Linked DNA regions of Homo sapiens: region 1 is linked to region 2. The links are contacts of gene promoters, found by promoter capture Hi-C in blood cells and fetal thymus (Javierre and others, 2016). All regions are on one chromosome and are shown on one strand. The core of a region is centred on a gene start or on the middle of the fragment in contact, and the rest is flanking DNA. Distances in the headings are between cores, read along the strand shown. Region 1 has its middle 23 kb from the start of IL1RN. Region 2 holds the start of IL1A (interleukin 1 alpha).

What was found. The method cuts DNA at HindIII sites, captures the fragments that hold promoters and counts their contacts. A CHiCAGO score of 5 or more calls a contact.
Region 1: a contact is called between a fragment that was not itself captured here and the fragment with the promoter of IL1A in region 2, in 1 of 17 cell types (neutrophils). The highest score is 5.4, in neutrophils.

What each region holds. Positions count from the first base shown.
Region 1 is chr2:113,102,260-113,106,178 of GRCh38, reverse strand. It overlaps a transcript of IL1RN not described here. Among named protein-coding and RNA genes, the nearest start is that of IL1RN, 23 kb to the left of the region's middle. The HindIII fragment of the contact is 5,174 bases long and covers 1-3,919 here.
Region 2 is chr2:112,782,746-112,786,424 of GRCh38, reverse strand. It overlaps IL1A (interleukin 1 alpha), which reads left to right and starts at 1,932. Exons shown (of 7, transcript NM_000575.5): 1 at 1,932-1,982; 2 at 2,647-2,701; 3 at 3,661-3,679. The coding sequence starts at 2,655. The HindIII fragment of the contact is 4,198 bases long and covers 499-3,679 here.

The DNA.
Region 1 (3,919 bases), core at 1,190-3,689, 320 kb before region 2:
AATACTAAATTCCAGTGAAGAAGTGAGCAAAGGAAATTGTGCAAAAAGTAGAATTTAGACAGAAAATAAAAATACAGAAAATGCTTAACTTTCATCAATAACAAGGGATTAATAGTTAAAATAAGCCATTAACAACTAATGAATTAGCAGAAAATAGGAAAAGCCCATTTTCCAACATTGGTGAGATGGCTATGAAATGGGATGCCAGCAATAGGCTCTTGTTCCAACTCTTCCAGAAGGTGATTGAGTGACATGTATCAAAAGTCATGAAAAGATTACTCATCTTTTGATCAACTAATTTCATTTCAGGGAACATTACAATATAAAATAATTCAAAGAATAAAAACCACATGATTATTTCAACATAGTTAAAAATAGCAAAACATTAGAGGTAACCTCAATGTGTTAAAAGGAAAATTAACTAATAATGCTACATTTATAGACAATTATACAGTTGTTTGAAATGCTTAATTTTGAATATGGGGTAGTAAACATGAAAAGTGCTTATAACACACTGTTAATGTCATCTCACCCAACTGGGGGATCAAAAAAGGGAAGAAGATTTCTGAGCTGCACAGTTCTCAGAAGAGATGGAACTCGGATGTCACTTTCTCCCAATTATAAAAAAGTTCTGAGCAGAAGGTTGTGCCTCATGATTGGATGACCATATTGTTTGAGTGGCAAACTGTGAAGCCTGTAACTACATATATAGAGTTTACATTTCTAATCAATTCTCACCTAAAATTTACCCTGATACATCTTTAATGAGTGACATAATGATTACTGAGCAGGATGATAAGTAAGCCCAAACATTTGTGTTGTCATGAGAGATGATATATAATCACCATGGCCCTAGTACTCAGCTGGAAATGTTAGGGTTTTCTTTTCACAGAATCTTCAGTCATTAGCTAGGCTAGCAGTAGCCCCTGACGTCATAAGCTCCTGACTCATCGTGTTCATCAGTCTAGTACTCACTCTTTCCAAACATGTCCACCATCTTCATGCCTTTCTATATATGTTCTCCCTCTACCCACAATGCGCTTCTAGCCAGAAACTCATCCACCCCTGAGCCCAGCTACGAGGCTACCTCCTCTGAAAGATCTCCTCCGTGCATTCCTCTATTGGTGTTACAACTTCCTTTCAGGGTTCCCATGTCTTTGTTTTTATATCTACATCACTACACTGTGTTATGGTAATTTGTGATTCCATCTGTTTTCCCACTGGGACTGGGAGTTTCTCAAAATCAGAACTATGTTTTAATTCATGGCAAAATAAATCAGATGTGGGATTTGGAGTTGGATAAACCTGGTTTTAAATTTCAGCTGGACCACTTACTAGCTACATGACCTTGCCCAAGTTACTGGGCCTTTCTGACCTTCTGTTTCTTATCAGTCCCATTATCAGTATAATGGGACTCAAAAAGAACCTGTCTCATAAAGCTCTTTGGCACACACTAAGTGCCCAATAAATGTTAGCCATGTACTCAGGCTTGTGGGCTACTGGGGTAAAGCAAGACCAAAGTCTTTGACTACTTGCTCAGCACCATACATAGAAACTAAAGGGAGGTGTTGAAATCCCAAAACGCCCCAGCTGCCTGAGCCAACAAGACTCCAACTCCAAGTCATCAGTTACTTTTCCGTCTCCTGGGAGCACTCAGACACTGCGGAAATCCCTTTGCATACCTTTTGCCCCCACCATGAGAAGGCCCAGGAATAGACATGTGGGGGCAGGAGGAGTCAGATTCTCTACCCACTACCCAGCCTTTCATCCCTCCCCTCACTGGGCCAACAGTCAGTGAGTCACTGCTAACATCCCCCAGAACACCCACTAGTCTTAGAGCTGGTGACTTCATGCTGTGAAGAAATTTTCCTCTGAGAAGCATCTCCTCCAGGTTACCAAAGATTCACTCCTCTCCAAGTACCATTGCCCTGAACTTTATTTACCTCTAACCTTTCAAAGTGACCAGCTAACACTGACAATACCTCTGCCTCACTTTGCATGTTACTAAGACTCCAGACATTTCTCAGGAACTCTCTTGACTTCCTTCCTCAGTGCTTCAGTAGAACCATAGTACCATGTAATGATGAAAATCACTCTGTCTAGTCTTAGTCACATCTCTTAACCCCTGGCCACTTACATGGGATGCTTAACTGAGAAAATTTGGTTTAAGAAAAAAAAAAAACACCCCTTGATGCCATAAAAATTAAATAAAATAACTTGGTGAAAGAACTAAAAACCTTGTAGGTACTCAACACATATTGAATATTACCTACTTTCTCCCTTTCAAAATATTGTTGCTCCTTCCTTTCTTTCTTTGAAGTCTGAGCTTTTGATGGACAGTTCCCCAATAATATTCATATGACACCCAGAATGTCCCAAACAGAATCCATCACCTTCCCACCCCACCCTCTGCTCTCCCCAACCATCTTTCTTCTGATTGCTGTATTTCTGTTGATAACACAACCCTTCTTGTATTAGTTTCCCATTGCTGCTATAACAAATTACCATAAACTTTGTGCCTTAAAACACAAATTTATCCTCTTACAGTTCTATAGGGCAGAAGTCTGACAGAGGTGACACTGGGCTCAAATCAAGGTGTCAGCACTGCTGTGATCTTTCTGGACTCTGGGGGAGAATCCATTTCCGAATCATTGCTAGCTGCTAGAGGCCACCCACATTCCTTGCCTCATGGCGGCATCACTCCAACCTCTCCGTTTATCAGCACATCTCCTTTGCAATTCAATCTCCTGTGTCCCTATTTTGAGAACGCTTGTTCTTACATTGGACACAACTGGATACTCCAGGAGAGTCTTTCTATCTTGAGATCCTTAGTTTAATCCCACCTGCAAAATCCTTTTTTCTATGTTAGGTAACACTTTAATTGACTCTAGACAGTAGGACACAGATGTCTTTGAGGGCCATAATACTACCTACTGCACTTCTTTCAGACTCCCAGGCCTGTGATATCAGGACCACCTGTGACTCCTCCACCTCCATTCCAATCCCATCTCCCCTCACAGGATGGAGTGATAGCACCAGGCCATGTGCCCACTCTGATCTACTGATACAGGCTGCCTGAACTATGATGCTGAGGACTGTGAAGTTGTGTCTTTGATTCCAAGAAAGTATTGTCCGATCAAGTAGTCATGTCTGCCGTGGGCATGGGATGTCAGGTCAGCATGAGTACTTTGCACCTCTATCCCAGCTCCTTCTGTGCCTTGTCAGGCCTCTGAGCCCAAGCTAAGCCAATGTATGCCCTGTGACCTGCACATATACATCCAGATGGCCTGAAGCAAGTGAAGAATCACAAAAGAAGTGAAAATGGCCAGTTCCTGCCTTAACTGATGACATTCCACCATTGTGATTTATTCCTGCCCCACCTTAACTGAGCGATTAACCTTGTGAAATTCCTTTTCCTGGCTCAGAACCTCCCCCACTGAGCACCTTGTGACCCCCACGCCTGCCCAAAGAGAGAAACCCCCTTTGACTGTAATTTTCCACTACCTACCCAAATCCTATAAAACCTCCCCACCCCATCTCCCTTCGCTGACTCTCTTTCAGACTCAGCCCACCTGCACCCAGGTGAAATAAACAGCCTTGTTGCTCACACAAAGCCTGTTTGGTGGTCTTTTCACACAGACGCACGTGACACGCCTGACCTCTCCTTCCCATGCCTACAGGCTTCCCCCTTCCCCAATTAGAGCTGCTTGTCCAAACCATTGCAATAGCTCTGTGTGAACTGAATCCCTCCACAATCCACATATCAAAGTCCTAACTCCCAGTGTGGCTGTATTTGAAGATAGAGCCTATAAGAAAGTAATTGAGGTTAAATAAGGGTGGGGCCCTAACACAATAGAATTGGTGTCCTTATAAGAAGAGGTAGAGACACCAGAGAGCTCTCACTGTCCCCGTGCCTGCA
Region 2 (3,679 bases), core at 683-3,182:
GGAATTATTTACAACAGAGGAGTGAGGATGGGACCAGGATAGGTATTGCCTATGTTGGTGGAACCAGGGTTTTTTTCCTGGATTACCAAAGAGATGGTATGCATTGCTCCCAGAAGCTAAATATCTTCAGGCTTTCAATGGTGGCCTTCACCTGAAAATGTTATCCCTGTTGAAGCTTTCAAGCCAGTATTTTCATAAGAACTATATTTTCTTTGGTGAACTGAGGCATTATAATGATGACTATACAGGTTCTTGAGTGACTGAAGCCATCATTAGCATTGTCATTATTTTTGTTTAGTTGCATCTCCATAGCAGCTCACATTCACAATGTGCTTTGCAATTGTTCCTTAGCAATAGCCCTCACAAGATTCTCAGGAGGAGAGGGTTAATCAGGATTAACATTTCTGTGTTGCCTAAAGAGGAACCAAGGTAAGCAGAAATGTAGCCAGTTGGCTGGCATCACTGTTGCTTCAGGATTCATCCTTAGACACCCAAGCTTCTACCCTAGTCTGGTGCTACACTTACATTGCTTACATCCAAGTGTGGTTATTTCTGTGGCTCCTGTTATAACTATTATAGCACCAGGTCTATGACCAGGAGAATTAGACTGGCATTAAATCAGAATAAGAGATTTTGCACCTGCAATAGACCTTATGACACCTAACCAACCCCATTATTTACAATTAAACAGGAACAGAGGGAATACTTTATCCAACTCACACAAGCTGCTTTCCTCCCAGATCCATGCTTTTTTGCGTTTATTATTTTTTAGAGATGGGGGCTTCACTATGTTGCCCACACTGGACTAAAACTCTGGGCCTCAAGTGATTGTCCTGCCTCAGCCTCCTGAATAGCTGGGACTACAGGGGCATGCCATCACACCTAGTTCATTTCCTCTATTTAAAATATACATGGCTTAAACTCCAACTGGGAACCCAAAACATTCATTTGCTAAGAGTCTGGTGTTCTACCACCTGAACTAGGCTGGCCACAGGAATTATAAAAGCTGAGAAATTCTTTAATAATAGTAACCAGGCAACACCATTGAAGGCTCATATGTAAAAATCCATGCCTTCCTTTCTCCCAATCTCCATTCCCAAACTTAGCCACTGGCTTCTGGCTGAGGCCTTACGCATACCTCCCGGGGCTTGCACACACCTTCTTCTACAGAAGACACACCTTGGGCATATCCTACAGAAGACCAGGCTTCTCTCTGGTCCTTGGTAGAGGGCTACTTTACTGTAACAGGGCCAGGGTGGAGAGTTCTCTCCTGAAGCTCCATCCCCTCTATAGGAAATGTGTTGACAATATTCAGAAGAGTAAGAGGATCAAGACTTCTTTGTGCTCAAATACCACTGTTCTCTTCTCTACCCTGCCCTAACCAGGAGCTTGTCACCCCAAACTCTGAGGTGATTTATGCCTTAATCAAGCAAACTTCCCTCTTCAGAAAAGATGGCTCATTTTCCCTCAAAAGTTGCCAGGAGCTGCCAAGTATTCTGCCAATTCACCCTGGAGCACAATCAACAAATTCAGCCAGAACACAACTACAGCTACTATTAGAACTATTATTATTAATAAATTCCTCTCCAAATCTAGCCCCTTGACTTCGGATTTCACGATTTCTCCCTTCCTCCTAGAAACTTGATAAGTTTCCCGCGCTTCCCTTTTTCTAAGACTACATGTTTGTCATCTTATAAAGCAAAGGGGTGAATAAATGAACCAAATCAATAACTTCTGGAATATCTGCAAACAACAATAATATCAGCTATGCCATCTTTCACTATTTTAGCCAGTATCGAGTTGAATGAACATAGAAAAATACAAAACTGAATTCTTCCCTGTAAATTCCCCGTTTTGACGACGCACTTGTAGCCACGTAGCCACGCCTACTTAAGACAATTACAAAAGGCGAAGAAGACTGACTCAGGCTTAAGCTGCCAGCCAGAGAGGGAGTCATTTCATTGGCGTTTGAGTCAGCAAAGGTATTGTCCTCACATCTCTGGCTATTAAAGTATTTTCTGTTGTTGTTTTTCTCTTTGGCTGTTTTCTCTCACATTGCCTTCTCTAAAGCTACAGCCTCTCCTTTCTTTTCTTGTCCCTCCCTGGTTTGGTATGTGACCTAGAATTACAGTCAGATTTCAGAAAATGATTCTCTCATTTTGCTGATAAGGACTGATTCGTTATACTGAGGGACAGCAGAACTAGTTTCCTATGAGGGCATGGGTGAATACAACTGAGGCTTCTCATGGGAGGGAATCTCTACTATCCAAAATTATTAGGAGAAAATTGAAAATTTCCAACTCTGTCTCTCTCTTACCTCTGTGTAAGGCAAATACCTTATTCTTGTGGTGTTTTTGTAACCTCTTCAAACTTTCATTGATTGAATGCCTGTTCTGGCAATACATTAGGTTGGGCACATAAGGAATACCAACATAAATAAAACATTCTAAAAGAAGTTTACGATCTAATAAAGGAGACAGGTACATAGCAAACTAATTCAAAGGAGCTAGAAGATGGAGAAAATGCTGAATGTGGACTAAGTCATTCAACAAAGTTTTCAGGAAGCACAAAGAGGAGGGGCTCCCCTCACAGATATCTGGATTAGAGGCTGGCTGAGCTGATGGTGGCTGGTGTTCTCTGTTGCAGAAGTCAAGATGGCCAAAGTTCCAGACATGTTTGAAGACCTGAAGAACTGTTACAGGTAAGGAATAAGATTTATCTCTTGTGATTTAATGAGGGTTTCAAGGCTCACCAGAATCCAGCTAGGCATAACAGTGGCCAGCATGGGGGCAGGCCGGCAGAGGTTGTAGAGATGTGTACTAGTCCTGAAGTCAGAGCAGGTTCAGAGAAGACCCAGAAAAACTAAGCATTCAGCATGTTAAACTGAGATTACATTGGCAGGGAGACCGCCATTTTAGAAAAATTATTTTTGAGGTCTGCTGAGCCCTACATGAATATCAGCATCAACTTAGACACAGCCTCTGTTGAGATCACATGCCCTGATATAAGAATGGGTTTTACTGGTCCATTCTCAGGAAAACTTGATCTCATTCAGGAACAGGAAATGGCTCCACAGCAAGCTGGGCATGTGAACTCACATATGCAGGCAAATCTCACTCAGATGTAGAAGAAAGGTAAATGAACACAAAGATAAAATTACGGAACATATTAAACTAACATGATGTTTCCATTATCTGTAGTAAATACTAACACAAACTAGGCTGTCAAAATTTTGCCTGGATATTTTACTAAGTATAAATTATGAAATCTGTTTTAGTGAATACATGAAAGTAATGTGTAACATATAATCTATTTGGTTAAAATAAAAAGGAAGTGCTTCAAAACCTTTCTTTTCTCTAAAGGAGCTTAACATTCTTCCCTGAACTTCAATTAAAGCTCTTCAATTTGTTAGCCAAGTCCAATTTTTACAGATAAAGCACAGGTAAAGCTCAAAGCCTGTCTTGATGACTACTAATTCCAGATTAGTAAGATATGAATTACTCTACCTATGTGTATGTGTAGAAGTCCTTAAATTTCAAAGATGACAGTAATGGCCATGTGTATGTGTGTGACCCACAACTATCATGGTCATTAAAGTACATTGGCCAGAGACCACACTGAAATAACAACAATTACATTCTCATCATCTTATTTTGACAGTGAAAATGAAGAAGACAGT